Linked DNA regions of Homo sapiens: region 2 is linked to region 1. The links are contacts of gene promoters, found by promoter capture Hi-C in human tissues and cell types (Jung and others, 2019). All regions are on one chromosome and are shown on one strand. The core of a region is centred on a gene start or on the middle of the fragment in contact, and the rest is flanking DNA. Distances in the headings are between cores, read along the strand shown. Region 1 holds the start of TMPRSS11D (transmembrane serine protease 11D). Region 2 overlaps TMPRSS11A (transmembrane serine protease 11A).

What was found. The method cuts DNA at HindIII sites, captures the fragments that hold promoters and counts their contacts. A contact is called where the count stands out against the background at its distance.
Region 2: a fragment that was not itself captured here is called in contact with the fragment with the promoter of TMPRSS11D in region 1 in 1 of the 25 tissues and cell types used here (adrenal gland).

Annotation. Positions count from the first base shown.
Region 1 is chr4:67,882,079-67,885,954 of GRCh38, reverse strand. TMPRSS11D (transmembrane serine protease 11D) reads left to right here and starts at 1,953. Exons shown (of 10, transcript NM_004262.3): 1 at 1,953-2,029. The coding sequence starts at 2,022. The HindIII fragment of the contact is 18,706 bases long and covers 1-2,532 here.
Region 2 is chr4:67,925,841-67,929,716 of GRCh38, reverse strand. All of the region lies in intron 5 of TMPRSS11A (transmembrane serine protease 11A), which reads left to right. Among named protein-coding and RNA genes, the nearest start is that of TMPRSS11A, 36 kb to the left of the region's middle. RefSeq lists enhancers at 1,734-2,234, 2,235-2,735. The HindIII fragment of the contact is 7,576 bases long and covers 1-3,876 here.

The sequences.
Region 1 (3,876 bases), core at 704-3,203:
TCAATTTTCCCCATGCCTTTCCCCCGACTCATCCCCACGTTCTGTTGTGAATAGTAATAGGGCACTGGGATCTGCACTAATACGTTAATTATGAGACATCTAAACAACATATGATGAGTAAGTACCTACGTGGTAAAAAGGCCTTTGCTGCTGAGTATTCCAGGAAATAAAGACATACAAGAAAGAGCATGCATAATTAGAGAAAATTTCTGTAAGCAAAAAACAGAAAATAACACTTTAAATCCTAGTAAAAATTATTAAAACAAAAGTATAATTTTATAAGCCATTAAAATATTTAAATCACTTGGCTCAATAAGCCTCTTCAGTTTATTCTGAAGAAAAATTCAACTGTAGGATGACAAAGAAAAACTATGTTTGTGAAGGTGGTCATTCAAAGAATCATCTACAATAAAAAAATAGAAAATGTCTAAATACTTCACATTAGAAAATAACTTTGGTGCTTTATGATAAGTCCATTCAATGTAATGTGATTTACCTTTTAAAATGCAACCATTAAAACTGCTAATAATTAATGAATCTTGGTACCATATTTGTGTTTTAAATTATATAAAAATACAAAGTTATAAATATATAGCTACTAAAAATAAAAATTAGTAATAGCGATATATTTGTGAAATAATATTAAGTATAAAAAGCATAATACAAAATTATATACCATGATATAACTATATTTAAAGGTACTTGAAGTTAACATGTAAAATTTAAAAATGGTTTGTTTAGGTAACTTTATTTTTTAAACTTTTAAATCTTATTATAGTTATTTATTTATTGCTAAAAAATCAATGGCAGAATGTCAGGCATGAGATACTGTATGTAAAAAATATATTTCCCAAATATATTTGGGAAAAAACATATAAGTAACCACTTATTCCTGTCTCTGTTGTTTGATTTGCACATTATATAGAAAAAGTCAAGTAACTGAACACATCTGAAGTTGCAGTATTGGAGTAAATTTAACCATTAGTTGTCAGTGCTTTACAAGATGAAGTCATAGAATTTTATAATTGAGAGTCCTCTAAGACCTCCTGATTCAGCTTCCACTTTTCTTAGTAGATACATGTGACTTATGGAGAAATAAGTAAATTTTTTCCCTTAAGCTACACAATTAGTTGGTGAAAAAGCTAAGACTAGAATTCATATTGTACTACTAATAATATTGTAATAATTCTATTACAAGTTCCAATTCTTTAGCATTCATTAGTTCTCACAAAGTAACCCCAGTATAACCTTCCAAATTTATATCCTGCTTCTTTGCAATGTTAGACAGGAATGCCCTTTTTCCCCTCCCTGCTAGTCTTGCCTGTTTTCTTGAGCTCTCCATCCTTACCCTAACACCCTACACACTCATACTGTCTTCTTCTGTCTGCTCCTCTTCTAGTAGTAGTGTGTTAGAATAGCTTTTTCAAATGATCATATTTGGAAAAAAACAAAGTGGATTTTAGTTCCAACTATTCTGTTTGCTTGTCTTACTTTGTGCATCTACTCAATTATGCTCTGTTTCATATATTATGAGAAAAACTGCATTTAATCATACAGATGAGGGAATTCAGAGGTAGTGCCCATTAATGTACGGAAAGTATGTTCTGATGGATCTTGGCTGGCTGTGTTGAGGAATGAGGTGTATAACAATATGATAACATGAGCAAAATAAGTGTCAAATCCTCTTGAACTAAAAGTGACTCTACAGTTGTGAAGTAGTCACAGGCTTTCACAAAATACCTGTCAATTGTAATTGTGTTTAATCTCAATTTACCAGAATAAATAAATTTCTTACTAATTTGTGAAATTCCCTGTCTATTTCCAATTATCTTCCACAAGTCATACTATTGGTTTGTTGATTCCCTCAAACTTGTTTAACAAGTTAGATTTTAATTAACATGAGATTTCCTCCTTTGTCCTCAACTATAGATCACACGTAATACATGAGAGTCATTCATTTGAGTGGGAATCTCAAAGCAGTTGAGTAGGCAGAAAAAAGAACCTCTTCATTAAGGATTAAAATGTATAGGTAAGTCCTGTTTTTGTCTTTGTAGCTTTAAAAGTTTTACTATATCTTACAGTATGGGAAAAATATAAAGAAGCTTAGCAAATTTTGACTGTGTCTAGCAATCTTCTAGTTACTTCTCTGAAAACTTCATCGAAACTCTTAGATATTGTTTAGATAATATGCTTGATATTATTTTCATAAGGTACATAGTTGCTTAACTGAATTTTTTATAAAACAACCACAAAAATACTTAGCTTAGCGTTATGACAACATATCTTTAAATAAGGAAGTGGTTTTGTTTCTCATGTGCAACATTTCGAAAAGTGGTGTGTGGATTTTAAAATTGCAATCAGTAAACAATTCTTGTGTTGTTTGGAACTTTTCGAGGATTCTGTGTTTTGACTTCCATTACAGTTTTATTGCTAGCTATTAAATAAATATGCCATAAATCCTAAAGTACACTTTTAGAAAGTAAAGACGGTATTTTTCTACTTTTTATATAGTTGTAGAATTATTTTCAAGAAAGTTCTTGCTAACATTTAAGAGAAAATAATCTCTCTCTGGTTTTCTTTTTAGTTAATGAATAAGTATTTTCCTATACTTTCACATAAAGAAAGAAAAAAGTTGTGAGATAATCAAGTCACACGTTAACATCTCAAAACAATGAAATAATTATGTAACTTGGTATGTTTATGTGTGCACTTAAGTGTATATATTATGCATATTATTTTTCTATGACTACAGGAAAACATGATACTGATAAGTCATGCTGAAAGGATCAACAAAAGCATGAACAATGTGTTAGCTATAATAAGTGCAGCTGAATTTATTTTAAATCTCCTGAACATTGGAAAATTCAATCAAAAGTCAAACCATTTTAAGTAATAAAAATATATATACAGTTATATGCACTTGAATATATATATATGAGTGAAAAGTGGATAGCTGTCTAAGCTTCCAATGATAGAAGAAATAAAATCATTTCATATTCATGTAATAGATACAAGAAATGTATTAAAGTAGCTTAAAAACCTATGAAGTAATTTACATACTGAGTTTGTTCTTATTTTATGTGAAAAAAACAAATCACAAAATTGTATTTACTCATCAACTACTACTTTGTAAAGCTATACATGGGAGAAAGTCTAATAAAGAACATAGAACATTAATCAGGTTTGTTATACTAAAGCAGTGAGTTTATGAATTATATTTTTTATTGTTCTTAAACCATCTATAAGTGTAATATTATTTGGGTAATATAGTGCATTTTAAAATGTATTTTGCTGAAATATTTTAATTTTAAAGAAATTACTCTGATTTTAAAATATTGCCCTTATAAGCAGTCAAGTGTATATCAAAACATCATTCAATGGAAAATAATAAAAGAAGACATGTAAATGATACAAATCCTGAAAGAGTTGTACAATTTCAGAAGGCTTTGAATCAATCAAATTTCTAAGTTGATCCATCATTGTACAGGAAATTTGACACTCAATCAGAGCCAACCTTGCCAATTACAAATAACTCTTCTGTGGAATTTTGGTTTCTAAGGATCACACTTTTTGGAATATTTTATCTCTTTAATAGCCTGTATCTACTACTAATAAATAGCAGCTAGGTATTCATATCAAATAACAGAAGGAAAATTAAATTGTACAATATACTTTTTTTAGGTAATTGTAGGTAATTTTGGCATAATTTTAGATAAATCTTCAGGTAATTCTGAAATACTTTTGGTTGAAAATTGGCTGCCTTGGATGGTTTGATTGCTTTTTTTATAAAAAATTAAACTCCCAGCTCTCTTCCATGCTGCTGCAAGATGAAATGCTCCTTTCTTTATCTACCTTCTTCCCTTGTCTGAAGAAGGA
Region 2 (3,876 bases), core at 1,021-3,520, 43 kb before region 1:
GTAAGCATGTCTGAAGTTAGTCATCCAGTGGTTTTCCCGACAGTAATTGATTGGCACTCATCCCAAAATATAGGCAAGCATTTACAACTAACAGAGAGTTAATCCCACCCAGGCACTGCCTCCATGACTAAGCAAGTGAAAATACTAGGGGTTTAGCAATAATTGTTTTTCTGGGTGGGACCTTCCTAAAACACAAATTCATGTGTTGCCATACTTTTATTGATAGTTTCTATATATGGTGATATACAATTTTTGTTAGCTTTTTTTCCTATGGGCATTTGGGAAAATGGCAAGCCAACTTTGAAGTTGTTAGAGTCATTTTACCATTAATGCTTTAAAAATCACAGTCTAGGAAAACATCACTGAAACTATGTGTACATTGTTCCACTTTTCTCTTTTTTTTTGTTCACCCTTAGCCCATTATACCATTATCACTTCCCTCAATTAAGGAGAACAAACCTTTATCAAGGTCTATCTCTATGGCCTTTACCTTAAGTAACTAATTTCTTTTTATATTCCAGTGACGTACGCAAATTCACCTTTATAGAAGTGAAATTCACACAAAAAGAGTTGAGGAATTCAGTAATTAAAAGGAGCTAAGAATCAAATTTAAATCTCTAATTTCTTAAAAGGCTCCAATTAAAAAAGGTTTCTATAGTCAAACACATCTTAAAAATTCTGGCTTTGATACTCGTTTCTTGGAAATTCTTCCTTATAGTGTCATATTAAAAATTCTAAGGCAGCCAGCTAGAGAGAAACTTGTTTACCCTCGTCCGCTAAGCTGTTTGCACAGCATCTTCTTCCAACAGACAAGTATAGATTTCTCCTACAAATTTCAATGGATACCAGACCTAAGTGTTACAGAAGAGATTCAGGGCAAGCGATTTTTATCAGACATGAAACAGGACACTCTGCCCTTGTAAGGGTCTAGCTGACACTTCAAGAGGAAACCAGATAAGGAAGTAAAAAATGTGAGGTAATGGAATGGGCAGATGTTTGCTGATGTGAGAACGAGTCAGCTACTTAGGGAATAAAGCTGAGGACCTCTCCCAGCCAGAAGGGAGGAACCTGACAAGTGCTTAATCCATCTTCTTTGTTAGATGGGGAAGCAAATGAATAGAAGTTGTGAAACAATGGGCATTCTGATAATTTACATGATGCTTTCTGTGTAATTTCCAATAAATAGTTAATTTGTCAGGAATGTAAAAGCCTGAACTATCTGAAACCAGAGTAAAGCATAAATTGTTCATTGGCTGCCTGGTCTTTTTGTTTTTTGTAGGCTCAGCTTCTAAACTTCAGCTTATTTTAATAATTGTACTAAATTAAATGGTAGGATATGCTAATGGAGAACCTGATTTGAGAGTCACCTGAGGCTGGGCATGGTGGCTCAAGCCTATAATTCCAGCACTTTGGGAGGCCGAGGCGGGTGGATCACCTGAGGTCAGGAGTTCAAGACCAGCCTGGCCAATATGGTGAAACCCCGTCTCTTCTAAAAATACAAAATATTAGTCAGGCCTGGTGACGGGCACCTGTAATCCCAGCTACTTGGGAGACTGAGGGGGAAGAATCACTTGAACCCGGGAGGCGGAGGTTGCAGTGAGCCAAGATCGCGCCACTGCACTCAAGCCTGGGCTTGACAGAGCAAGACTCCATCTCCAAAAAAATAAAAAATAAAAGAGTTACCTGACCAATTCTAACTCCACTAAGTCACCACAGGACCACCCAAATAATTGGCTCATGCCTTTGTCTTCATTTTCTCATCTGTAAAATTCCAATGGTAATGTTTGTTCTTCCTGAAATCACAGAGAGATTATAACGATATACAAGGAAATAGAAAACACAATGTGAAATAAAGAGGCTGTTACTAATGAGAAAACTATTATGTTGTGCATATGCTTTGGAAACCTGAAATCATTAATTTGAGTGATTGACTAGTAGCAGAAAGATAGATCCTTGAAAGTTTCAGAATGTTCAATGTAGAAAGAACAGTGTTTGTTAGTGATATGGGAGCCTAGGGGGTGTTGCTTTTCTGGCCAGAAACCTCTGTGGCCAGTGGTTGGTGCCTTTGCCCAAGTTTTGCTCTGGCCCACTGGGCTTGTTCTGCCCACTTGACCTGGCAGACTGTGCCCACCTTCCGCTACCAGCCTGGATCCCATGCCCACCAAGGCCAACCCAGGCATGGAGCTGTGAGGGTTGTCTGAGCGAGCACAGGGTCTGGCCACTGCCCACAGCCAGGCACACTGGCTGCAGCATGACGGGCAGCTCCAGGCACTGGCACAGGTGTGCTGTCTCTCTGTGAGGCTGTGGCTGGACAAAGCTCACTGCAAGCAGCTTCCCTGGCAGGCACCTGGGAATGTGGTGGCACCCAGGAAGCTTGGAGATGCCAGGAACTGCAGGGTCCCAAAGAGGGAGTCACAACCCTGGCTTGGGGAGCTCCCAGGTCTGGGATCCCTAAAGGGCTGCAGCTTTTCTCTCTTTTTACCCACAATGTGGCCAGCAAGGGGTATGTTTCATTCCTGTTTGTGTTACAGCTCTTTCAGTCTTGCTATTTGGCAGGTCCTGAGTTCTTGTCCTGAGACCAAGAAGAATGAGGTATGCAGACAAGTGGAGGGTGAGCAAGACGAAGAAAGGTTTACTGAGCAAGAGAACAGCTCACAGGAGACCCACAGTGGGCAGCTCCTCTTCATAGCCAGGGTGTCCCAACAAGTGTCCAGCTCCTAGCAAAGAGGAGGCCCTGGAGGTAGAAGCTCCTCTCTGCAGGCAGGTTGTCCTGTTGAGTGTTCAGCTTTCAGCACACAGTAGGCAGTAGGCCCTAGAGTGGTCTATCTCCTCTCTGCAGGCAGGTAGTCCCATGGTCTCCCAGTCACCTCTCCATCTGCAAGGGTCCAATGCTGCCTCCAGCACCTCTCTGCCCACCCCTCCGTGCCTGACCAAGCTGCTCCCCCACCAGTGGGCAACTCAGCCCAGCCCCATTGTGGTAGCTCCCAGGGTGGCAGGCTCTGGGGGGCTCCCAGGGATGGGCTCCAAGGACTGTCCACCTTCTCCCCACGCCCTCCCTGCAGTGGCCATGGTCAAGAATGGCAATGTGGGGCCAGGTTCCGGAGCAGGAGAGGCTCCAGGCCTGGGAGCAGGTCCTGCCTGGTCACGTGAGGTTGGGGGTGGCACAGTCGGCTGCCTCAGGGATGTGGGACACAGGGGACCCACCACCATCACTGCTACTCCCGCATCCGCTCCTGCTACCACTGCTCCAGACAGCCTGTAGCTGCCATCACTAGCACTTAAGAAAGGCACATTCAGTGGACAGCTCAGGAAAATCTTTACGTCAATTTTTTATAGGCAAAAACATTGTTTCCTGGGCAAACAAAATTTATGGACTACCAATAAATAGAAAACTGTAGAGATTCTAGATTAAGTCTAGAAATAATCCTGTAGCCCAAGATTTATTTATAATTTGTCAAGAATCTGTATTTTGTTTTGACAAAAAAAAACTGTGTGGTGTGGGTCCTTCAGGAGACACAGTGTGACAAAGCAAAGCTAAAATCAACTTCTTTGCATTGCAAACACCAAGGCTGTAGTCAAGCAGCTCACTGCCTATGTGTCAGATGACTTTGCTTCATTTTTCATCATGATACTTGTAGTCTATAGAGCCCTGAATATTAACTAGCTTTCTCCCAACTCAGAACCGTGTTAGGAGGTGGTTGCTTTCAAAACTAAAGTGTTAATGTTTATTTCCATTTCTATACCAGGAAAGTAAAAATCTTTGGTCAAAATTAGAAATCTTTAACAACTAGTTACTTGTGTATTGACAGTTTGTTTCCAGGTGTAATCATTCTCCCTTAAAATCCGGTTATATTCACGACCATTATACTTATCCTG